Regions from separate parts of the Homo sapiens genome. Here region 2 is linked to region 1. Evidence: promoter capture Hi-C in human tissues and cell types (Jung and others, 2019). All regions are on one chromosome and are shown on one strand. The core of a region is centred on a gene start or on the middle of the fragment in contact, and the rest is flanking DNA. Distances in the headings are between cores, read along the strand shown. Region 1 holds the start of ZNF430 (zinc finger protein 430). Region 2 overlaps ZNF100 (zinc finger protein 100).

Region 1 (4,753 bases), core at 407-2,906:
GAGTGAGGCTGGAGAAATGGGGGACGGGGGTTAGACTTAAGACCCTGCTTGGGACACAGGTGAAAAATGCAGCAGAAAATCAGTTCCCCGTGGAGTGTGAAAATAATTGAGTGGCAGGCAATTAGACTGAGGTGTCTCTAGACCCTGGGTTCCTACTTTTAAAAAGATCTAACGTGGCTGGGCGTGATAGCTCACGCCTGTAATCCCAGCATTTTGGGAGGCCAAGGCAGGCGGATCACCTGAGGTCAAGAGTTCGAGGCCAGCCAGGCCAACATGGTGAAACCCCGTCTCTACTAAAAGTACAAAAATTAGCTGGGCAGGGTGGCAGGCGCTTGTAATTCCAGCTACTCAAAAGGCTGAGGCAGGAGAAGCTTGAACACAGGCAGCGGCAGAAGTTGTAGTGAGCCGAGATTGTGCCACTGCACTCCAGCCTGGGCGACAAGAGCGAGACTCCATCTCAAAAAAAAAAAAAAAAAAAAAAAAAAAAAATCTAACTCAGGCGCATCGTTTTGAAAATTACTACATTGAAAGACACAAAATTCAGGCTTAATCAACTGTATACTGCCAATTAAGGTCTGATTACACAACCAGAAAATTTTCACCTTTATTGTACAAACTAAGAAACTACATAACGGTACCTAACCAATTACTGAATTTGGCTTTCTTCATCATGCACCTTATAAAAGTCTTTCCTTCAAGCCCCGCCATGAACAACAAATTACAAACCACAGCTGGGTGCTCAACAGTTTTTTAATCACTCTTTGATTAATTTCTTTAATATTTTTGTGGTGACTTCTGTACATTTTTTTTTTCCGAGACGGAGTCTTGCTCTGTTACACAGGCTGTAGTGCAGTGGCGCTATCTCGGCTCACTGCAATCTCCACCTCCCAGGTTCAAGTGATTCTCCTGCCTCAGTCTCCCAAGTAGCTGGGACTACAGGCGTGTACCACCATGCCCGGCAAATTTTTGTATTTTTAGTAAAGACGGGGTTTCACTATGCTGGCCAGGCTGGTCTTGAACTCTCCTGACTTAGTGATGCGCCCGCCTCGGCCTCCCAAAGTACTGGGATTACAGACGTGAGCCACCCCTCCCGGTCTGTACATTTTTAATAGGAGAAAAGAGGAACTAGGAACCCAGGACCAAAGTTCTTCCCATTCATGAACTCGCACCCCAAGTCAGGATTCTCCCGTGACGATTCTCCCGTGACGATCCTCCCGTGGTCCCTGCACAGTCTGGGAGAGACGCGGCGCTGCGGATGCAGAGCTGCCCAGAGAGGGCTCCAGGCCAGGGCACAGTCACTGCGCAAGGAAGAGACGGGACGTGCTGGGGCCCGCCTGTCAGCGCAGCCGCCATCTTAAGGCTGATGGGGACTGAGGCCCAGCTGGGCAAGAACTCGGGGCGCAGATTGTGCAGCTGACTGCCGGGAGGCCTGAGTCCCGCCACAGCCACTTCCCACCCATTACAACCAGCCCCTCCCCTCTCTGGGGATGTCGGACCCGGCACTCTCACCATTTCTAGGCTTCCAGGGGTTCCTGGCGTCTTAGCTGTAGATCTCCCAATACCTGCGGGTCACAGGGCCACAGAGCCTGGACCTCTAGGAGCAGAGGACACAGAGCGCTGAAGACGAGACCTGGAGCTCAGGCCACAGCGAGGGACAAAGGCCCCGCCAAACCCGGAAGCCGCCCTGTCCGCTTCACCTGCGTGCCTGATTGGACGGTTCCCTGCCTAGCGTCTCTGATTGGATAACATTTAAATCCCCGCCCCCTCAGGCCATGATTGACGGAAGATGTGATGAGATGCGGGGCTGAAAGAAGAGTGACAGCTTGGGCTGCATCCTTCTCTGACAGGGCTTCCTCCCTGAGCTGAGCCAGGCCCACCCCAGAGGTTATTTGCATTTAACCTTGTGTGTAAGGTCATATGCATTTATAAATAATATATGGGGCCGGTCACGGTGGCTCACGCCCGTAATCCCAACATTTTGGAAGGCTGAAGCGGGCAGATGACCTGAGGTCGGGAGTTAGAGACCAGCCTGACCAACATGGAGAAACCCAGTCTTTATAAAAAATATAAAATTAGCGGGTTGTGGTGGCCCATGTGTGTTATCCCAGGTACTCGGGAGGCTGAGGCAGGAGAACCGCTTGAACCTGGGAGGCGGAGGTTGCGGTGAGCCGAGATTGTGCCATTGCACTCCAGCCTGGGCAACAAGAGCACAACTCTGTCTAAAATATATATATATATATATATATATATATTTATTTATATATATTTATTTATATATATTTTTATATATTTATTTATATATATTTTATATATTTATATATGTATTTATTTATATATTTATATATTTATATATTTATTTATATATATTTATATATATTTATTTATATATATTTATATATATTTATTTATATATATTTGTATATATTTATTTATATATATATTTATATATATTTATATATTTATTTATGTATTTATATACATTTATATATATTTATATATATTTATATTTATATAATTATATATATTTATATATTTATATATATTTATATATATATTTATATATTTATATATATTTATATTTATATACTTATATATATTTATATATTTATATATATTTATATATATTTATATATTTATATATATTTATATATTTATATATATTTATATATAAATATTTATATATTTATATATATATATTTATATATTTATATATTTATATATATATATTTATATATTTATATATATTTATATTTATATATTTATATATTTATATTTATATATTTATATGTATATATTTATATATATTTATATTTATATTTATATATTTATATTTATATATATTTTTTATATTTATATTTTTATATATTTTTATATATTTATATATTATACATATTTATATTTATATATATTTATGTTTTTATATATATTTATATTTTTATTTTTATATATTTTTATATATATTTATATTTATATATATATAGTGGCTATTCAAAAATGAAAAGAATGTAACAATAATTATTTTAAAATTTCAGATTTTATGACCTTCCCGGCTAAAGGAGGCAGCCTCAGATTTTAAAAAGATGGTAATCTTCTGAAATAAAATGTGAGCCACATGTGAATCTTAAATTTTCTAGTAGACAAACTTGAAAAAGAAACAAGGAACAGGTTGAATTGATTGTAACAATTTAACCCAATATGTCCATAATATTATCATTTTAATGTGTGAGGAATGTGTAATTATTAATAATGTATATAAACATTTGAAACTAAATCTTTGAAACTAACTCTGTATTTTACCTTTCTAGCACATCGCAGTTCAGACCAGCCACATTCCAGTCACTCAGGAGGCACACGTGGCCAATAGCTGCCACATTGAAGTTCAGCTCTGATGTCAGGGGGGTGAATGAACTGAACATCCCTTTTCTGCCAGAAGTGAAGGCAGAGTCTCTCCCTACCAATATCTTTCTTCAGTTCTAAGGGTGGAACAGATAGTGGCCATAAAAAGAGCAGATGGCAGCAGGAGTAAAATAACCACAGGTAGACCACTGCTGGCCACCTGTTGCCCACTTTTCTTCCAGAGATCAGACAGTGAAGAAAGAATGTTGGGGCCACAGGATAATAAAACTCTGTGTCTTCAGATCTGTCCACACTCTTGACCTCAAATGTTTAGATATGGAGAAAACAGATTAAAGGCAAAACTTATTTTGCTATTGGCCTTGGCCCTACTAGTCAGGCTGTAGTTACCTGTTTTCTCCTGTGGTGTGTGGGACTGTGTGGGTATAAGCACCAATCACATGCATACATGTCTACCTGTATTTCTGCATTACTCAACATTCTCTTACAAGTCACCCAACTTTAAATCAGGGGAAAAAATCAGTACCTATAGGGTGCCCACTGTTAGAACATAACTAGTAATCAACCTGTCATTGAATCCTGGCATCCTATCTGCACTGGGTGCATGTATTAGTTAGCTATTGCAGCATAACAAATCATCCAAAACTTATTAGTTCATAATCGAGATGGTCAGCCATTTAGGTTGGGCTCAGTGGGGCCATTCTTCTGGTTTCAGCTGAGCTCCTTCAGTCATATGTCGTCAGCTGCTTGTTGACTAGGCAGCTGTGCTTCTGGGGGTGATGTTCTGCTTCTGGGGTTGTCAATAGGGACACCTTGCTTCTCCTCCCCATGATACCTTATTTTCCAGCTGGCTAACATGGGCTTTTTTCCAAGGTGATGTCAACATTCTAAAAGAAAAACAGAAGCACTCAAGACCATTTGAGCCTAGGTCCCAAACTAGCTCATTGCCATGTTCACAGGTTTCTACTGCCCTGAGCAAATAAGGCCAGCCTGATCTAGGGTTTGGAAAACAGATTCTGAATCTTGATGGAAACAACTGTAAAAGCATCTGGCATTGGGCATGGATACAAGGGGGATGAAAAATTGCTACCATTTTGCAAACACGGTGGCTCAGACCTGTAATCCTAGCACTTTGGGAGGCTAAGATGGGAGAATTATGTGAGCTCAGGCGTTCCAGTGCAGCCTGAGCAACATAATAAGATTTTGTTTCCATTAAAAAAATGAAAAAATTAGCCAACCATGGTGGTACATGCCTATAGTCCCAATACTTAGGTGGCAGAGGCAGGAGGATTGCTTGAGTCTGGAAGGTCAAGGCTGCAGTAAGCCATGATTGGCTGCACCACTGCCATCCACACTGGGTGGTAAAATGAGACTCTGTCTCAAAAAAAAAAAAATATTG
Region 2 (5,043 bases), core at 2,464-4,963, 730 kb before region 1:
TATATGGGTAAAATTGTGTCATGGGGGTTTGGTGTAGATTATTTTGTCACTGAGGTACTAAGCATAGCACCAAAGAGGTATTTTTTTCTGATCCTCTTTGTCCTTTCATCCTCCATTCTCAGCTAGGCCCCGTGACTGTTCCTCGTGTCCATGTGTTCTTATTATTTAGCTCTTACAAATGATAACATGCATTTGGTTTTGTGTTCTGCATGAGTTTTCTAAGGCTAATGGTCTCCAGCGCCATCCGTGTTGCTGCAGAGATCTTTATCTTGGTGGTGTTTGTTTTATGGCCACATAGTCTTCCATGTTGCTTATGTACCATATTTTGTTTCTATTAAATCTTTTCTTTATTTTTTTTTAAGACAGTGTCTCACTCTGTCACACAGGCTGAAGTGCAGTACAGTTGTGGCTCACTTCAGCCTCAACCTCCAAGGCTCAAGGGGTCCTCCTACCTCAGCCCATTAAGTAACTGGGACTACAGGCACACACTACCATGTCTGCCTAATTATTTTTATTTTTTGTAGAGATGGGGTTTTGCCATGCTGCCCAGACTCGTCTTGAACTCTTGAGCTAAGGCAATCCACCTGCCTTGGCCTCCCAAAGTGCTGGGATTACAAGAATGAGCTCTGTCATCTGACCATACCATATTTTTTTCAATCTAGGCTACCACTGATAGGCATTTAGGTTTATTCCATGTCTTTGTTATTGTAAACAGTGCTGAAATGAACATGCATGTGCATGTGACTTTATGGTAGAATAATTTATATTTCTTTGAATATATACCCAGTTAAGAGGTTGCTGGGTCCGATGGTAATTCTGTTTTTAGTTCTGTGAAGAATCGCCACACTGCTTTTCACAATGGTTGAACTAATTTACACTCGCACCAACAGTGTATAAAAGCATTCCCTTTTCTCTGCAACCTTGCCAGTATCTGTTAGTGACTATTTTTTTCCTTTGAGACAGGGTCTCACTCTGTGACCAAGGCTGGAGTTCAGTGGCATATCTTGGCTCAGTGCAACCTCTGCTTCATGGGTTGAAGCATTTCTCATGCCTCAGCCTCTTGAGTAGCTGGAACTACAGACATGCACCACCATGCCCTGATAATTCTTGTATTTTTAGTAGAGATGAAGTTTTGCAGTATTGGCCAGGCTGGCCTGAAACTCCTGATCTCAAGTGATCTACCTGCCTTGGGCTCCCAAAGTGCTAGAATTATAGGCATGTGCCACCTTGCCCAGCTAATTTTTGTATTTTTAGTGGAGACAGGGTTTCACCACGTTGGCCAGGCTGGTATCGCACTCCTTACCTCAACTGATCCACACCCACCTTGGCCTCCCAAAGTGCTGGAATTACAGGTGTGAGCCACCTCTCCCAGCTTGTTCCAGCACCATTTATTAAATAGGGAATTATTTCCTCATTCCTCTTGTCAGCTTTGTCAAAGATCAGATAGTTGGAGGTGTGTGGCATTATTTCTGGCCTCTCTATTGTGTTGCATTTTTCTATGCATCTCTTTTTGCATCAGTATTATGCTGCTTTGGTTATCGTAGCCCTGTAGTGTAGTTTGAAGAGGGTTAATGTAATACCTCCAGCTTTGTTCTTTTTGCTTAAAATTGCCTTGGCTATTCAGGCTTATTTTAGTTCCATATAAATTTTAAAATAGTTAAGTTTTAGTTCTGTTAACAATGTTTTTGGTAGTTTGATAGGAATAGCATTAAGTCAGTAAATTTCTTTGGGTAGTTTTGACATTTTAGTGATGCTAATCTTTTCTATCCATGGCATAAAATGGTTTTCCATTTGTTTATGTCATCTCTCACTTCTTTAAGCAGTGTTTGATCATCTTGTCATAGAGATCTTTCACATTCCTGGGTAGCTGTATTCCTCGATATTTGTGTGTGTGTGTGTGTGGCAATTGTGAATGGCATTATGTTTTTGATTTGGCTTTTGGCTTGGATGTTGTTGATGTACAGAGATGCTACTGATTTAGTATCCTGAAACTTTGCAGAACTTGCTTTTCAGTTTAAAGAGCTTTTCTGCTGAGACTGTACCAATTCTATGTCGAACAGGAGTTTTGAGGGAAGGCATCCTTGTCTTGTGCCAGTTTTCAAGGAGGAATGCTTCTCACTTGTGTCCATTTAGTATGTTGGCTGTAAGTTTGTGAAAGATGACTCATTATTTTGAAGTATGTACCTTCAATGCCTAGTTTGTTGAGGGTTTTAAACATGAAGGATAGTAAATTATATTGAAGGCTTTTTTAGCATCTATTGAAATAATCATGTGGTTTTTGTCTTTAGTTTTGGTTTATGTGATAAGTAACATTTTTTTCCTCTTTTAAAAAATTTCTTCTAAAAAAGCAGGGAGATACACTTGCAGAACATGCAGGTTTGTTACATAGGTATGTGTGCCATGGTGGTTTGGTGCGCCTATTCACCCGTCCTCTATGTTCTGTCTCCTCACCATTCACCCCTCAACAGGCCCTGTGGGTGTAGTTTCCCTCTCTGTGTCCATGTGTTCTCATTGTTCAGCTCCCACTTATGAGTGAGAACATGCAATGTTTTGTTTTCTGTTCCTGTGTTAGTTTGCTGAGGATGCTGGCTTCCAGCTTCATTCATGTTCCTGCAGAGGACATGATCTCATTCCTTTTGATGGCTGCATAGTATTCCATGGCTTATATGTACCACATTTTCTTTATCCAGTCTGTCATTGATGGGCATTTGGGTTGGCTCCATGTCTTTGTTATTGTAAATAGTGCTGCAGTAAACATACATGTGCATGTGTCTTTATAGTAGAATGGTTTATATTCCTTTGGGTATATACCCAGTAATGGGATTGCTGGATCAAATGGTAATTCTGGTCTAGATCCTTGAGGAATGACCATACTGTCTTCCACAATGGTTAGACTAATTTGCCTTCCCACCAAGAGTGTAAAAGTGTTACTATTTCTCCACAGCCTCACCGGCATCTGTTTCTTGACTTTTTAATCATTACCATTCTGACTGGTGTGAGATGTATCTCACTGTGGTTTTGATTTGCATTTCCCTGATGATCAGTGATGTTGAGCTTTTTTTTTTTTCTTTTTTTCTTTTTTCTTGAGACGGACTTTCACTCTCATTGGCCAGGCTGGAGTGCAATGGTGCGATCTTGGCTCACTGCAACCTCTGCCTCCTGGGTTCAAGCGAATCTCCTGCCTTAGCCTCCCGAGTAGCTGGGATTACATGCCCCACCATGCCTGGCTAAGTTTGTATTTTTAGTAGAGACGGGTTTCTCCATGTTGGCCAGGCTGGTCTTGAACTCCCGACCTCAGGTGATCCAGCCGCCTCGGCCTCCCAAAGTGCTGGGATTACAGGCGTGAGCTCGGCTGAGTGTATTTTCATGTTTGTTGGCCACATAAATGTCTTCTTTTGAGAAGTATCTGTTCATGTTTTGCCCACTTTTTGATGGGGTTGTCTTTCTTTTAAATTTGTATAAGTTCCTTATAAATTCTGGATATTAGACCTTTGTCAGATGGGTAGGTTGCAAAAATTTTCTCCTGTTCTGTAGGTTGTCTGTTCATTCTGATGATGGTTTTCTTTTGCTGTGCAGAAGCTCTTTAATTAGATCCCATTTGTCAAATTTTGGCTTTTGTTGCGATTCCTTTTGGTGTTTTTGTCATGAAGTCTTTCCCATGCCTTTGTCCTGAATGGTATTGCCTAGGTTTTCATTTAGGGTTTTTATGGTTAAACATTTAAGTGTTTAACCCATCTTGAGTTACTTTTTGTATAAGTTAATTTTTGTATAATTTTGTAAGGAAGGGGTCCAGTTTCAGTTTTCTGCATATGGCTAGCCAGTTTCCCCAGCACCATTTACTTAACAGAAGATCATTTCCCCATTGCTTTTGTCAGGTTTGTCAAAGGTCAGATGGTTGTAAATGTGTGGTGGTATTTCTGAGGTCTCTGTTCTGTTCCATTGGTTTTTAACATGAAGGGATGCTGAATTTTATCAAAGGCTTTTTTCTATTGAAATAATGATATGTTTTTAATTAAAAGAGTTTATTAACTTTTAATATAAACATGAGAAATAAAAACCACATAAATTGTAACATTCTTTTTAAAATAAAACAGCTATCAATACTTGACTCTCCAAGCTCTGAACTCCATAAACAATGTTTTGTTGTTTTTTTTTTGAGGTGGTAGATTGTAATATTTTTATACCATTATTTATCATTTATTTCTCTGCCCTTTAAAAATGATGGAAATTGCAGCACAATATGATGTGAAATATTGCTATAGTAGAGGAAGTATTCCTGGCCCAGGAATGCTTTGTTTATAAGCAAGATTCCTAGGATTAGATTTGAGTAAGTAGGAGAAATAGATTTCACATAATTGAGAACACTAATCTCCTTTTAGTTTTTCAAATTTAGATGGCATTATCAGTCTCCTAAAATTATTTGTTCCTTGCCTTTTAAAGCCTGAAGTAAGTGTTCCTAAGGGTTATGTAAGTTATTTCTTAAATAGCAGGACTTAATGGGACACCTACAGGTTGGTAGCATGTAGGATGATAAAACAGCTGTTCATATCACCTTCTATCATTAGGGCCCAGTTCCTTTTATTACATGTTAATTAACAGTGCTCTTCAAAATCTTCCTTTAAATTAAAGAAACTTCGGTGATCAATGCATATAGAGCACAGCTCTGCAAGTAATTCATTTTAAAAAGAGAAGGGCATTTTATGGAGATACAAGATATTCCAAAGGTTTAATGTAATTTTAAGCTTTGATACTTGTAGAAGTGCTACAAACCTTCATAAAACCTTGCCTGAATGTTTTTCTTTTCCTTCTTTTGAGATAGGGTCTGGATGTCGCCCAGACTGGAGTGCAGTAGCATGATCATGGCCCACTGCAGCCTTGACCCCGCAGGCTCAAGTGATCCTCCCACCTCAGCCTCCAGAGTAGCTGGGACTACAGACATACGCCACCATATCCAGCTAATTATTTTTATTTATTATTATTTTTTACAGACAGGGGCTCACTGTGTTGACTAGACTGGTCTTGAACTGCTGCGCTCAAGTAATC

The links. The method cuts DNA at HindIII sites, captures the fragments that hold promoters and counts their contacts. A contact is called where the count stands out against the background at its distance.
Region 2: a contact is called between a fragment that was not itself captured here and the fragment with the promoter of ZNF430 in region 1, in 1 of the 25 tissues and cell types used here (stomach).

The regions. Positions count from the first base shown.
Region 1 is chr19:21,017,560-21,022,312 of GRCh38, reverse strand. It overlaps ZNF430 (zinc finger protein 430), which reads right to left and starts at 1,656. Exons shown (of 5, transcript NM_025189.4): 1 at 1,510-1,656. The coding sequence starts at 1,512. RefSeq lists enhancers at 781-1,372, 1,373-1,966. The HindIII fragment of the contact is 8,151 bases long and covers 1-4,753 here.
Region 2 is chr19:21,753,350-21,758,392 of GRCh38, reverse strand. The region is part of intron 2 of ZNF100 (zinc finger protein 100); the gene reads left to right. It also overlaps the pseudogene CCNYL6. Among named protein-coding and RNA genes, the nearest start is that of ZNF100, 12 kb to the left of the region's middle. The HindIII fragment of the contact is 6,514 bases long and covers 457-5,043 here.